3 separate regions of the Homo sapiens genome follow, and all the other regions are linked to region 1. The links are contacts of gene promoters, found by promoter capture Hi-C in human tissues and cell types (Jung and others, 2019). All regions are on one chromosome and are shown on one strand. Each heading gives the region's core, a stretch centred on a gene start or on the middle of the fragment in contact. The rest is flanking DNA. Distances are from core to core; before and after follow the strand shown. Region 1 holds the start of LY86 (lymphocyte antigen 86). Region 2 holds the start of RREB1 (ras responsive element binding protein 1). Region 3 holds the start of LOC105374898 (a long non-coding RNA gene).

Region 1 (4,007 bases), core at 35-2,534:
GATTACAGGCGCGTGCCACCATGCCCAGCTAATTTTATATTTTTAGTAGAAACAGGGTTTTTCCATGTTGGTCAGGCTGGTCTTGAATGCTTGACCTCAAGTGGTTCACCCTCCTCAGCCTCCCAAAGTGCTGGGATTACAGGTGTGAGCCATCATGCCCTGCTGGAGATAGGGTCTTTAAAGAGCTGATTAAGCTAAAGTGAGGCCATGGAGGTGGGCCCTAATCTGATATGATTGTGTACTTATAAGAAGAGGAGATGAGGACACAGATGTACACAGAGGGAAGAGCACATGAGGAGACAGGGAGAAGATGCCACCTAGAAGCAAAGAAGAGAGGTCTCAGGAGAAACCAGCCCAGCTTCCAGAGCTGTGAGGAAATAAATCTGTTATTTAAGTCCCCAGCCTGTGGTGGTTTGTTATGGCAGCCCTAGCTGACTAAGACACAGCCCGATTGGTTGGTTCTGACACTTCTTACCACAGTTCACTGCATTCTCTTCACTGAATTGCAATTATCTGTTGGCGTATTGGGTTGGCCCGCTGGGGTGACAGGCCTGGCATATGCACTTTTATTATCTCTAGCACTGAGAAACCCTGGCATTGATAGCTGCATGCGAAGTGCTTGCTGAATTCATGAGAGCTACTGCTGCAGTGAAAGCTCTGAAAGTGTCCAGAGAGGGACAGGAATCTTCTCTTTGGGCAGAAGTGATCTTTTCACTTCACTTGCAAAGTACATCAGATGGAAAGGTAGCCCAGGTGTACGGTGTTGAGGAAGGGCCTACTGGAAGCTGCTTTTCCTAATTTTCAGCTGGTGAGGTTTGATGATTTGGTAGACTCACTGATCATTTTGTTCTTTTTTGGGTTCTGTGGTGTTAGTAAATGGCTATATTTAGATTCAATTTCTCTTTCTTGTACTCTTTGTTGTTCTGCCATTCTCTTCCGCTCCCAGTCCTGGCCCCACCGCTCCTTCTTCCAAAAGCTCCCAGTGGCCCTCCCAGACCTGCTGCAGGTGGAGAAAGTGTTCAGCTGCTGGTCCCCTCTCCCCTCCCACCCCAACTCCAACTGAGCACTAGCGGCTCACATCTGTGGGCCTTGCTTTCCCCATAAACACACATGGGTGTACTGCAAGGGCTTACCGCAACTCTGGTAGAGCACTTCCAAGCCGCTGTCGCTACAGACCACGTGTGTGGGCCAGGCTTTCCCACCGCCGCCTCCACTGCAGCTGGGAAAAATCAGAGTCCAGAGGAAGAGAGTGGCTGTGAAACCCTTCATGGTGGGGGCCTGTATGGGACACACAGAAAAATAACCGGCCAATAAAAAGCCTGTAAAATTTCTTCCTCTCCCCTCACCAAGGCAGTTGGATGTTCAGTTTCACTTCTCAAATTTTAGACTCGCTGGGAACCACAGTCAGAAGTAAAAGGCTGAGAGCAGAGGCATTTGAATACTGTTCCCCCAGGACCTTGAATCTACAGGTGTGGCTGGTCTGGTCTGGGGTAGGATGCGTGCTGACTTTCTGCTTTCACAGGGAGAGGGTCAGTAGTGATGCGTGAACTTACCTCTTGGGGGCCCCTCAGAACAGCCTCCACCCCCAGGTGAGGCTGTAAACTTGGGAAAGACAAAGCGCAGGCCACCATCTGTTTCCCATCTCCAGCCCCCGAGTCTCTGCAGGCTCTTGATGCAGGCTGTGTATGGACCCAGGGACCTGGCTGCAGCCAGCAGGCAGCAGTTGATAGCACGAGGGCTACAGAATGACATTTGGAATCTGGAATGAGGCTTTGGCCCTATTGTCACTTTCCTCTCCTCTGGCTTTGGCTCTGCTCTTAGGTTTGGGATTTTAGCAGTGAATTGTCCAGCTGCAGAACAGACCTTGTTTTGGGAGCTGCAGATGTGGTCTCTGGAGATGAGGCAGAGGCAATAGCCCTGAGAAGTGAGCCGTGTTCTATTTCTGGGTTTGGCTTGGTAGAAAAAGTAGGAAGGGTGGGGAGGTGGGGCCACCCTTAAGGAGGCTGGTTTGCTGGTTTTGGTGTTAGTGGGATCATTGACATCACATCTCACTTTCTCTTCAAAGCCAAGATTCTGTCTTCCTTCTTCCATGTATCTCTATTCTGCTGCAGGACAGCAAGGTTTCTCAGTCTTGATTCCTCAACCCCGCCCCAGCTTCACCTTAATGTAAGAGGACCAGAGTCAGTGCCAAGGTCAGCAGATTTCAGGAGCAATAGAAAACACTATTTTCCCTGGGAGGAACAGCATTTTTCTGAATGCACTAGGTAAATTTACTATTTCTGCTGATGGCTAAGCAAAAATTAGAGTTAGCTCAAAACTTTTTTTGAAATAGGTGGAACATAATTACCAATAAATTAATTGGTAAATAATTTGGATTTCTTGATAGACATCAGAGAGTGGTCATTTGGAGAAGGAACAGTTGTGGATTGATTATTTTTAGGTACCTCTGCAAATAAGTTCAGTGATGATGGCTTTCAACAGCAGTTCTCAAAGTGCGGCCTGGGAAGATGACAGCCTCAGCTTCCACTGGGGGCTTGTTAGAGATGCAAATTCTGGGCTACTCAAGACCTATTAAATCAGAAACTCTGGGGGGCGGGACTCACCATTCTGGATTTTCACAAGCCCTCCAGGTGTGCCTGATGCAGTCTCAAGTTTGAGAACTGCTGGCTTTTACAGAACATAAAGCGAAGGTTGAGCCCCAAGGGAGTGGTGGGAAGTTGCTCTAAGAAGAGACAAGGTGGCCCCTCTGGCCTGTGTGAGCGGAAGGCAGCTGCGCTGTGAGCAAGATCTCGGGAGATGAGAGTCTGAAGCTTATGGTGAGAGCAGCGGCCCTGGTGGAAGCGTGGTAGCCCCTAGAAGGTCCAGGATGGAACACAGAAGCTTTCCCTTGGGATATGTGAGTGCTCCAGCAGTTGTAAAGAGAGCTCTGAACATATGTGAGTGAGGAGAGCAATTGAGGGTGAGAACTTCCTTCCCTGCAAAGTGCGTCATGATTGACACTGGAGGAGGAGTCCAGGAGTGCAGGGCAGGGAGCAGAAAACCTAGCAGAGAGCTGTGGGCAGCTGTGGCAGGGAAATGGTCTTAGTATGTTCTGGCTGCCATAACAAATACCTTAGACTGGGTGGCTTAAATGACAAGCATTTATTTCTCACCATTTTGGAGGGTGGAGGTCCAAAGTTGGAGATTAAGGTGCTAGAAGATTCAGTGTCTGGTGAGGGGCCTCTGGTTCACAAATGGTGCCTTCTGGCTGTGCCCTCACATGGTGGAAGGGGCGAAGGGTTTCTCTTAGGCCTCTTTTATAAAGGCACTAATCCCATGTATGAGAGCTCCATTCTTATGACCTAATCACCTCCCAAAGGCCTTTCCTCCTAATACCATCACCTTGAGGCTTAGGATTTCAACATATGAGTTTGGGCAGGGCCACAAACATTGGCTTTATTGCAGAAACAGTGTCATCTGAAGACAGGGGTACAGATTCTTGAGAATCAAAAGACCTGGAAATGAAAGGAATCATAATTCAGGGATCGCACTAGCATTTAGAAATATTCCAAATGGACCAATCAGGAACCTTGTGATCATGGTGACCCTAGGACATTGGTCTTCAGGCTAGAGTGGTCTTCAGGGCATCAGCGTCAGCTGGGGGGCTTGTTAACATGCAGATTGCTGGACCCCACCCCAGAGTTTCTGCTCCTGTGTGTCTGGTGAGGCCTGAGAACCTGTGTTTCTAACATGTTCCCAGGTGATGCCAGTGTTGTTGATCTGGGGCCACATTCTGAGGACCTCTGGTTTAGCTTACAGAATTTGATCATTTGCAGAATGTACAATTAAAAAAAATCTTCTTAATAAAATGTTTTGTTTTATGACAGATGGCATTTTATATAACACATATATAACATACCCATATAGGATTAAGAGTAAGCCACATTCTCTAAGGAATTCTACTTACTAGTTCTGCCTACTGAAAATGGGATTTGATTGAAATCATTAGTTATGGCCGTCTAGTTCAG
Region 2 (3,726 bases), core at 514-3,013, 520 kb before region 1:
CCGGATCTGGGCTCACGTTCTATCTCCTAACCAGTAAGGAGCGAGGGAGGGCAAATCTGCTGAGCAAGGAGAAATACTTTCCTCCTCTTTTATAACCCATCACGGATGCACGGCGGCCGAGGGGCGCGAGCTGCACGCGGCGCCTGTCAAGCGGCCCGGGCCCGCACCCCGTGGGGTCCCCGCGTCCCCCAGCTCCCCGCCCCGCCCGGAGAGAAAGGTGGCCTCGCCCATCGGTGGGCTCGGCCGACGCGCCCCGCACTCACGCGCGGCCGCGGAGCAGGTCACATCCTCGACGCGCCCTTGGCCCGGTCCAGAAAACACGCCGCTTCCCAGGGAGGGGGTCGGCGACGGGAAGGACCTCCCCTGCTCCTTAGCAACCATTAAGGTCGCAGTTTCCTAAGAGACCGCGAGCGGGGAGGGGGCGCGGGGGGCCCGGCCCAAGGCTTGTGCGGGAAGTTGGGGGCGGGGGGGGCAGCAACAGGCCCCCTCCCCCCACCCAGCTAGACGCCGGGGGCCGGGATGGGAGGAGGAAGGGAAGCCCCAGAACTCGTGAAAAACTGGTCCAGCGGGCGGCGGACAAAAGTTTCCGAGCGCGCTCCACAGCTGGGCGGCGGAGCGGGCCCCGGCGGCCGGCCCCGCCTCGGATGCTCCCGGCCTCCTTCCTGTGCTCGTGACGGCGCCGAGCCCCCCACCCCCCCCGCCCGCGAGGCAGGCTAGCTCCACACCGAGGGCTCCCACGAAAACACTCACCCCGCCAACGGAAGGGCGAGGGAACAATACGTGCCCGCACGGCTAGGGCCCGGTCCCCTCCTCCCCAGGCCCCCCGGGGCGGTGGTCGGCGTGACCACGACCGCCAGCCGGGAACCCGCGAGGGCGCGGGGCTGCCCGCGGCCCCCTCCCGGCCGGCGCCGTCCGCCCGGGAGGTTCAAAGTCCGCAGAGCAGGGCGCGGCGGATGCTCCCACCGAGCAGCCCCGAGCAGGCACCCCCGCGCGAGCACCCCGGGCAGGCACCCCCGGATACCTTAGGGCGGCGGCGGGAGGGCGGGCGCCGTCATCTCCGCGCTTCCCGGCCCGAGAAGGACTCGAAAGTATGTAGGAGAAAAGTTTCCCCTCCCACATGGGGGGGAGGATGTCGAGGGAGAGAGGGCGGAAGATGGAGAGCAGCGCTGGGAAGATGTTTCTGGCCGGCGGTGCGCGCACCATCCGAGTCCCGGCGGTGCTGGTTAAAAATAAACTCGGCGGCGCGGGTCGGGCCGGATTCCTGCGCTCGGACGGCTAATATGGATGCGCATCAGGTCCTGCTGGCGGGGCGCTGCGGCGGCTCGCGCTGGGAGCTGGTTGGCAGAGCCGGCGGCTCGGGAAAGGGAAAAGAGCGGAGGAAGGGGAGGAGGAGGAGGAGGAGGAGGAATGGCCCGGCGCGCAGCCCGAGGGGAGAGGGCTGCCCCGCTCATCCCTGGCCGCCCCGCCGGCCCGAGCGCACGCTGCGCGGAGTGGGGCGTGCGGGTCCCCGGCTCCGGGACACACCGAGTTTCAAAAGTACAACGCGCTCTGCAGACTTCACCCTCCCCATCCCCAAAGTTCTTTAAAAGGTCGCTCCGGCTGTGCCCCAGACTTCTCGCTGCCGCCGGCGTACCGCGAGTCGGAATCCGGGGCACGTACTTACGGCCGGGCAGGACGCTTGGCTCCCTGGCATGATGCGTTGGGGACCGGTGGGCTTCAGGGAGAGACCGAGGAGAGATGCAAACTTGTTCCGGAAAAGGAATCAAAATGGCGTTTCTGGATGTGCAAAGTTCATCAACTCCGCAGTCACTTCCCCTCCTCCTCTTCTCCCACAGGGAGGGAGGTGGGCGAGGAGCTGGCGACCCCGGCGCCCCAGCCGTCGTCCCGGCCCCCGTCTCGGCCCCCCGCCCAGCTTCCTCGCCCGCACGCTCGGAGTCTCGCTCTCCCCCTCTCACCCTGATAAGTAGACACATCACGTGTTGCTCCTGCGAGTCTCCTGGGGACGTGTTACTGAGCGGCCGCGGCGGCGGCGGCGGCGGCGGCGGCGGCGCTCGGACTGGGGGGGGTGAGGGGGAGGACCGCCGCCCCCGCCCCGACTTTAGCAGGGTGACCGCAGTTGCCATCCCGGGATGGATGGAGGTGGAGTCCCCTCCCCACCCCCCACCGCAGCCCCAGGTTTGCCCTACGCCCTCCCAAGGCGCCCCGGGCCATGGGAGGGCCGGGCTGCCCGAGGGGAAGGGTCCGGGAGGCCGCGACTGGCTGCGATCCCAATCGTCCCGTTGCTCGCGGGCCACCTTATTCGGCCACCGCGCCCCCTCCCCTGCAGCCCCTCGCCGCGGGCGACTCCCCGCCCCCGGCTTTCCATCACTTCACTCCGCAGTTTCACTATTTTAACGGAGGCGGGGGAGACACGGTGATGCCTCGGAATTGCGAGAGGGGCACCTCAGAGGCGCTGGAGTTGGGGGGATGGGGGGCGTAGGGCTCGGGGCCCTGGCCTGACGCCGCCCCTCTGGGTCTCCGAGGCATCTGCGAGGGGGAGCCCCGCCCGCGCCGTTTCCTTTCCACGCGGTCCTCGCTCTGCATCCAGGTGGGGCGAGTGGATGATGGGGCAGGAGATTAAGGAGCAGGCGCTTCACCCCGCCCCTAGCTTCGAGCCGTTTCTCTCCCGGGGCCATCCTTCTTACTCGGGCTGCCGCCCTGAGTGTGCTCGCCGTCTAACAAACTCAACTCCGACCCGACTTTGGTCCCCCTCCCTTACCCACACCCCACAAAGGATGCTTCAGCGGGGAACTGCCGTGGCCGCCAGGGGCTGAGGACGGTTCCTGCCGCCACTGTGTCCCCACCCCGCGATGGAATGGCTGATGCTGTGTCATCCACGTCGCCCTCCAAGGCTTCAGAGAAGCCACACGCAGTATCTCTTTCTCTCAGAGGGCTCCTGTTTCAACTCTGAAAAGCAGGGGCCCTTCTCCGAGCCGCTCTCCATCTCTCCAGCTCCTGCCACCACGCTTCGCACTGGCTGCCTTGCCCCAAGTTATCACGGAGCCCAGAGAAACCAGGCCTGGGCTGTGCTTCCTCCATAAAGCAGCTGACATGTTTCCAACTGTTAATACTTCTCCTACCGAGGTTCTGAAAGGGGTCTGTTCTCAGCCTTTGGAAACATCTTCAGAAAGATAAGGATGATTGTGGTTGTTGAAAATAAACACGCCCCCCCCCCCCCGCCCCCGTAGTTCTAAAGAAGAATGTCCAAAGAATACTACAGTAGAATTAAGCGTTTGAGTCTGGTTAGGCAAGATGATGTTATGCAGGCAGAAAGCTGGCTACTTTCTATTTACTATGACCTTTGACCCTGGCTCCACCACACCAGCTCCTCTGAGAAGGCTTGAACACCATGGAGAGTTGTAAGCCCAACTGTGGGCCTTTAATTTGAGCCCTTCCATTGACCTCTAGTTTTCAGGGCTGCAGACAGAAGTGTCTGTCTCGGGATGGGTCCTGGCCAGAATAGAACTCTTTAGAACCAAGGAAAAGCAGCTGGACCCTTAGGTCTGATATGAGATAAGTAGGCTAAACCACTGCCCAAGAAGGAGCTGATTCAGCTGGCTGTTTCTCTGACTTTCAGTCATCAAAATTAAGTTTTCGGAACCTGTTATGTTTCCCAGGGTCTACTGTTTACTGAAGAAAACTCCATCCAGAGAAATTTTAGCGGTTGCATTTTTCTGAGCCTCCCCC
Region 3 (3,815 bases), core at 1,126-3,625, 600 kb after region 1:
GTTAATGTGGTAAAAAGAGAATTAAGGTTGCAGGTGGAATTAGACTGCTAAATCGGCTGCCTTTAAAATAGGGAGTTTATCCTGGATTATCCCTAGAGGCCAATGTAATAACAAAGGTCTTTAAAAGTGGAAGAGGAAAAAAGAAGAGGTCAGAGTCATGTGATGGGAAGATTCAACCCACCCTTGCTGGCTTTGAAGATAGAGGAAGAGGCCAGAAACCAAGGAATTTGGGCAGCCTCTAGAAACTAGAAAAAAAAAAAAAAAGAAAACTGATTCCTCCCTAGTGTCTTCAGAAAGAAATGCGCCCCAGTGATTTTAGCCCAGTAACCAATGTCAGACTTCTGACCTTCAGAACTAATGGCAAGATAATAAAATCCTATTATTTAAGCCATCAAATTTGTGGAAATTTGTTAAAACTGCAAATAGAAAACTAGTACAAGTCATTATTTGCACTGTACCAGTTTAGTTAAGGGAACACATCACACCAGTGAGGCCTGAGGGTTCAGGATGTATGTGTACTAGGGATTTCTCAGGGCCCTTCTTTGTCCATGTGTGCATTCAGAGGAGACAGCAGCTTCATTTCAACGTGGGGTGATGGTGTTTGTGAGAAAAAGAAGACATTGTAGAATTAATTTCTAAGGACAAAAAACAAAACAAAACAAAACAAAAACCTTGTGTTGATTTTTCACAATGTCTCGTCATAGAATCTTTTTTTGTTATTTTTTCCCCTATGTTGTGCCCTTTTTAGCTGTAAGACCTTCCTGTTTTCTTTCTTTCCCTCCAGTAATTTAATGGACATGCAGTTCTATTAAAGGAGTTATTGGTTTCTGTAACCATCACAGGCCTGCCCAGATATGAAAAGTTCATTGTCACAGTGATAGATGACTTGAGATACATTCATGAAAAATCTATCACCAGGTAGTTATTCTCTCGATAAATCACGGCGACTAATATTAGCTACATACCTCATCACCTGGACAAATCACATGTTGAATTGCTTTTAATGGGGGTTGCATTTCCAACTTTTACATTTCCCAGGACACAGAAGGAATGGGTTCAGTCTCTATGGAATGCCTAGAATGAATCCCTTGCTGTGGATGTGGTAAGAAGGGAGAAACACAGGAAGACACCAAACCAGACAAACCTCAGGCAGCCACTGCCTTTCACATCGAGAGACACTCCTTAAAATAGTCCAAGTCCCTAGTAAAGAGGAGAAGGGAGAAAAGGACATGTTTGTCCATCCTTGATTTGTTAATCAAGTCACAAATTGCTTTGTTTACATTAAGACACCACCATGGGAGTCTCTTCTTGATTAAGAAAGAAGCAACACCAAACAAGCAAGCTTGTGGGGATGCCAGGCTGGATAATTAACTTCAGCGCGCCTTCCTGACCCGGTTGCCACAGACTGCAGTGCCTGGGCCTGCCTCAATCTTTCCATTTCCTGGGAGGGTCAGCTGAGCTTCAGCAAGTGACTATAAAAAATGGCTTTCATAGTCCTCAAAGTCCTCTGCTTGTCTCCTCAGGGTGTCACCTGAAACAAGTTGGATTGCGCTCTCACTGAGGCAGGGAGAGAAATCCCAAGCAAAGTGGGTCATTTAACTCTGGCCAAACACAAATTCTTCAAAACAGGCAACTTTGAAGGGGATAAGGAACATCAAAGCACATGGGAGGCACATCCATCAATCCCTGTCCAGAGACATGATGGTCCAGCCATGTGGCAGCCAGGTCTCCCAGAGGCTTGTATACTCTCAGCCGGCCTGGCAGTCATGTTGGTATCACGCACACCTTCCACCTGTTGCACTGCACCCTTTGTGCAGCGTGTTTTCCTGTGTAACCATTCTTCTCCCATCCTCTTGTAATATTTTCTGCTCTTTGGAACATAACATGGGGAAAACTGCATTTCCTCACTTGCTTTGTTTATTGGGGTTGTGGTATATTGTTTCCTATTTCTGAATAGCCCTTGGACACTTTTGTAGATGGCAGAGAAAAATGCCTCCAATTCTGCCCAAATCTTTATCTTCAGGAGTCACTATAAATTCAAATCCAAAATGTGCTCATGTGTACACATTTATACAGATGTTCATATATTCTCTAATTTAGATATTTTCTGGGACACAGATACATACACACACACACATACACACTGCATTTGCAAACCTGACCTTATTCCTTCTGATTGGCTCTTGGACCTCATCTTTTATCTTTTCCATTGGTTTTGACATTTTGTGTTTCATTCTCCACATGCTCCTTCCCCTGAGCTTACAAACACACTCAAATCTCTTATAGCCTAAAAAAAAAAAAAAGGCCTTCCCTGTCCATCCTTTTACTGCACGCAGCTGTTTCTCCATTTCTCAGCCATTTCACAAATACATGATTGTAAGTTCCTAGAACAGTGCCCAGCCCAAGGCAAACACTCAGCAGATATTGGGAGACTATATGAATGAAATCCTCTCCTTCCCCTTTTTGCCAGCTTCCTCCTGGCTGGCCTCCAGCCTGTGGCCTCCAGAGCCAGGTTCCTCCTTACCAATGGCAGACACTCCACTCTCATTGGCCTCCTCCTTTTCCCCCATGTGTATCTTACCCTTTAAACACTATTTTATGTATTCTATTTTTAAATTTTCACCACATGTCCACATTCACTATGGGAAAATTAGAAACTGCAGGTGACTCAAAGGGGAAAAATGTAAAATAGTCATAATTTCTTCAACCAGAGACACACATTTTGGTCTCAGTGTCTCTGGTATTAATTCTCCCATTTCCACATGGGTGTGAAAATGTCGTTTCCCTCCTTTAAGAACCTTCATTTCCTTCCCATTGCTGAATCATTGCTGAGTGACTCTGACTCCCTGCGTGACACCGAAGATTCACCAGGATCTGGTCCCATCTCATCTTGCCAGCCTTCTCCCCAACCACAGCCCTCTATGTTTCCCACGCACGTGCTACAGCCGTACTGACTTCCTTCTTGCTCCTTCAACCTATGCAACCCCTCCTCTATTCGATGCCTTTGCTTATTTAGTTCTTCCAGGCTAAAATGTATTGCACTTCCACCCCAGCGCCTCCCATCCACCCTTGCATGTCCTATTCCTTCAAGATCCTTCTCAGGCTCAACCTTGCATGAACACTTCCCTGATCCCCTGGTCAGAATTATTGGGATGGCCCTCAATAACCTCTTGTTGTTCTTAATTTTGTATCCCAATTAGAGAACTGCTGATCCGTTTTGTCTTTAAACCATACGTTCCTTGAGGTCAGGGACTATGTCTCACCCATCTTTGAACCTCCCACAGTATCTGGCACTGTGCCTGGCACAGATGATTATTGAGTAAAGAACATTTCCAGTCCTTACCACCTCACACATATGTAGTTGCATGTTCTAACTTTAAAATAAATAAAGGTGTTGCTAATGCCAACACTTCTCTGGGCTACTTCTTGCTAATGCCTTTTCTCCCTCAGAAACTCCTCCTAGGCAGCATGCGTGTGTATTCCTGGTGAGTAGAGGCATAAAATTGTTGGCTGCATGTCATGGAGTACCTACCAATGGTTAGAAACAAAGGAACAGACACATCCATGGCAATGCAGATAAGAGAGAATGAAAAAATGGTGGCTAAAACAAAAGGGAAAGAGAAAAGAAGCAACTGAATACATCCTGTTTATGCCTTTCAGAACAACTAGCTCAACATTTCATTAGCTTGTTATATTTTTTCACGGGCTACAGGGAAACCTGAAGGACTCATGGTCCTTCTTTCATTCCTTCTTTCTCATTCAAGGAACTCTTGAAATCTATAACTTTCCTGGCCCCTTGTTTGAAGAGGAGAGTT

Evidence for each region. The method cuts DNA at HindIII sites, captures the fragments that hold promoters and counts their contacts. A contact is called where the count stands out against the background at its distance.
Region 2: the fragment with the promoter of RREB1 here is called in contact with the fragment with the promoter of LY86 in region 1 in 1 of the 25 tissues and cell types used here (spleen).
Region 3: a contact is called between a fragment that was not itself captured here and the fragment with the promoter of LY86 in region 1, in 2 of the 25 tissues and cell types used here (heart left ventricle and lymphoblastoid cells).

The regions. Positions count from the first base shown.
Region 1 is chr6:6,585,997-6,590,003 of GRCh38, reverse strand. LY86 (lymphocyte antigen 86) reads right to left here and starts at 1,284. Exons shown (of 5, transcript NM_004271.4): 1 at 1,134-1,284. The coding sequence starts at 1,269. All of the region lies in intron 1 of LY86-AS1 (LY86 antisense RNA 1), which reads left to right. RefSeq lists enhancers at 2,758-2,887, 2,898-2,987. The HindIII fragment of the contact is 16,234 bases long and covers 1-4,007 here.
Region 2 is chr6:7,105,998-7,109,723 of GRCh38, reverse strand. It overlaps RREB1 (ras responsive element binding protein 1), which reads right to left and starts at 1,763. Exons shown (of 13, transcript NM_001003699.4): 1 at 1,664-1,763. RefSeq lists silencers at 395-484, 505-994, 1,785-2,004, 2,065-2,544 and an enhancer at 2,895-2,954. The HindIII fragment of the contact is 13,967 bases long and covers 1-3,726 here.
Region 3 is chr6:5,988,268-5,992,082 of GRCh38, reverse strand. LOC105374898 (a long non-coding RNA gene) reads right to left here and starts at 1,197. Exons shown (of 2, transcript XR_926413.4): 1 at 1-1,197. The HindIII fragment of the contact is 8,341 bases long and covers 1-3,815 here.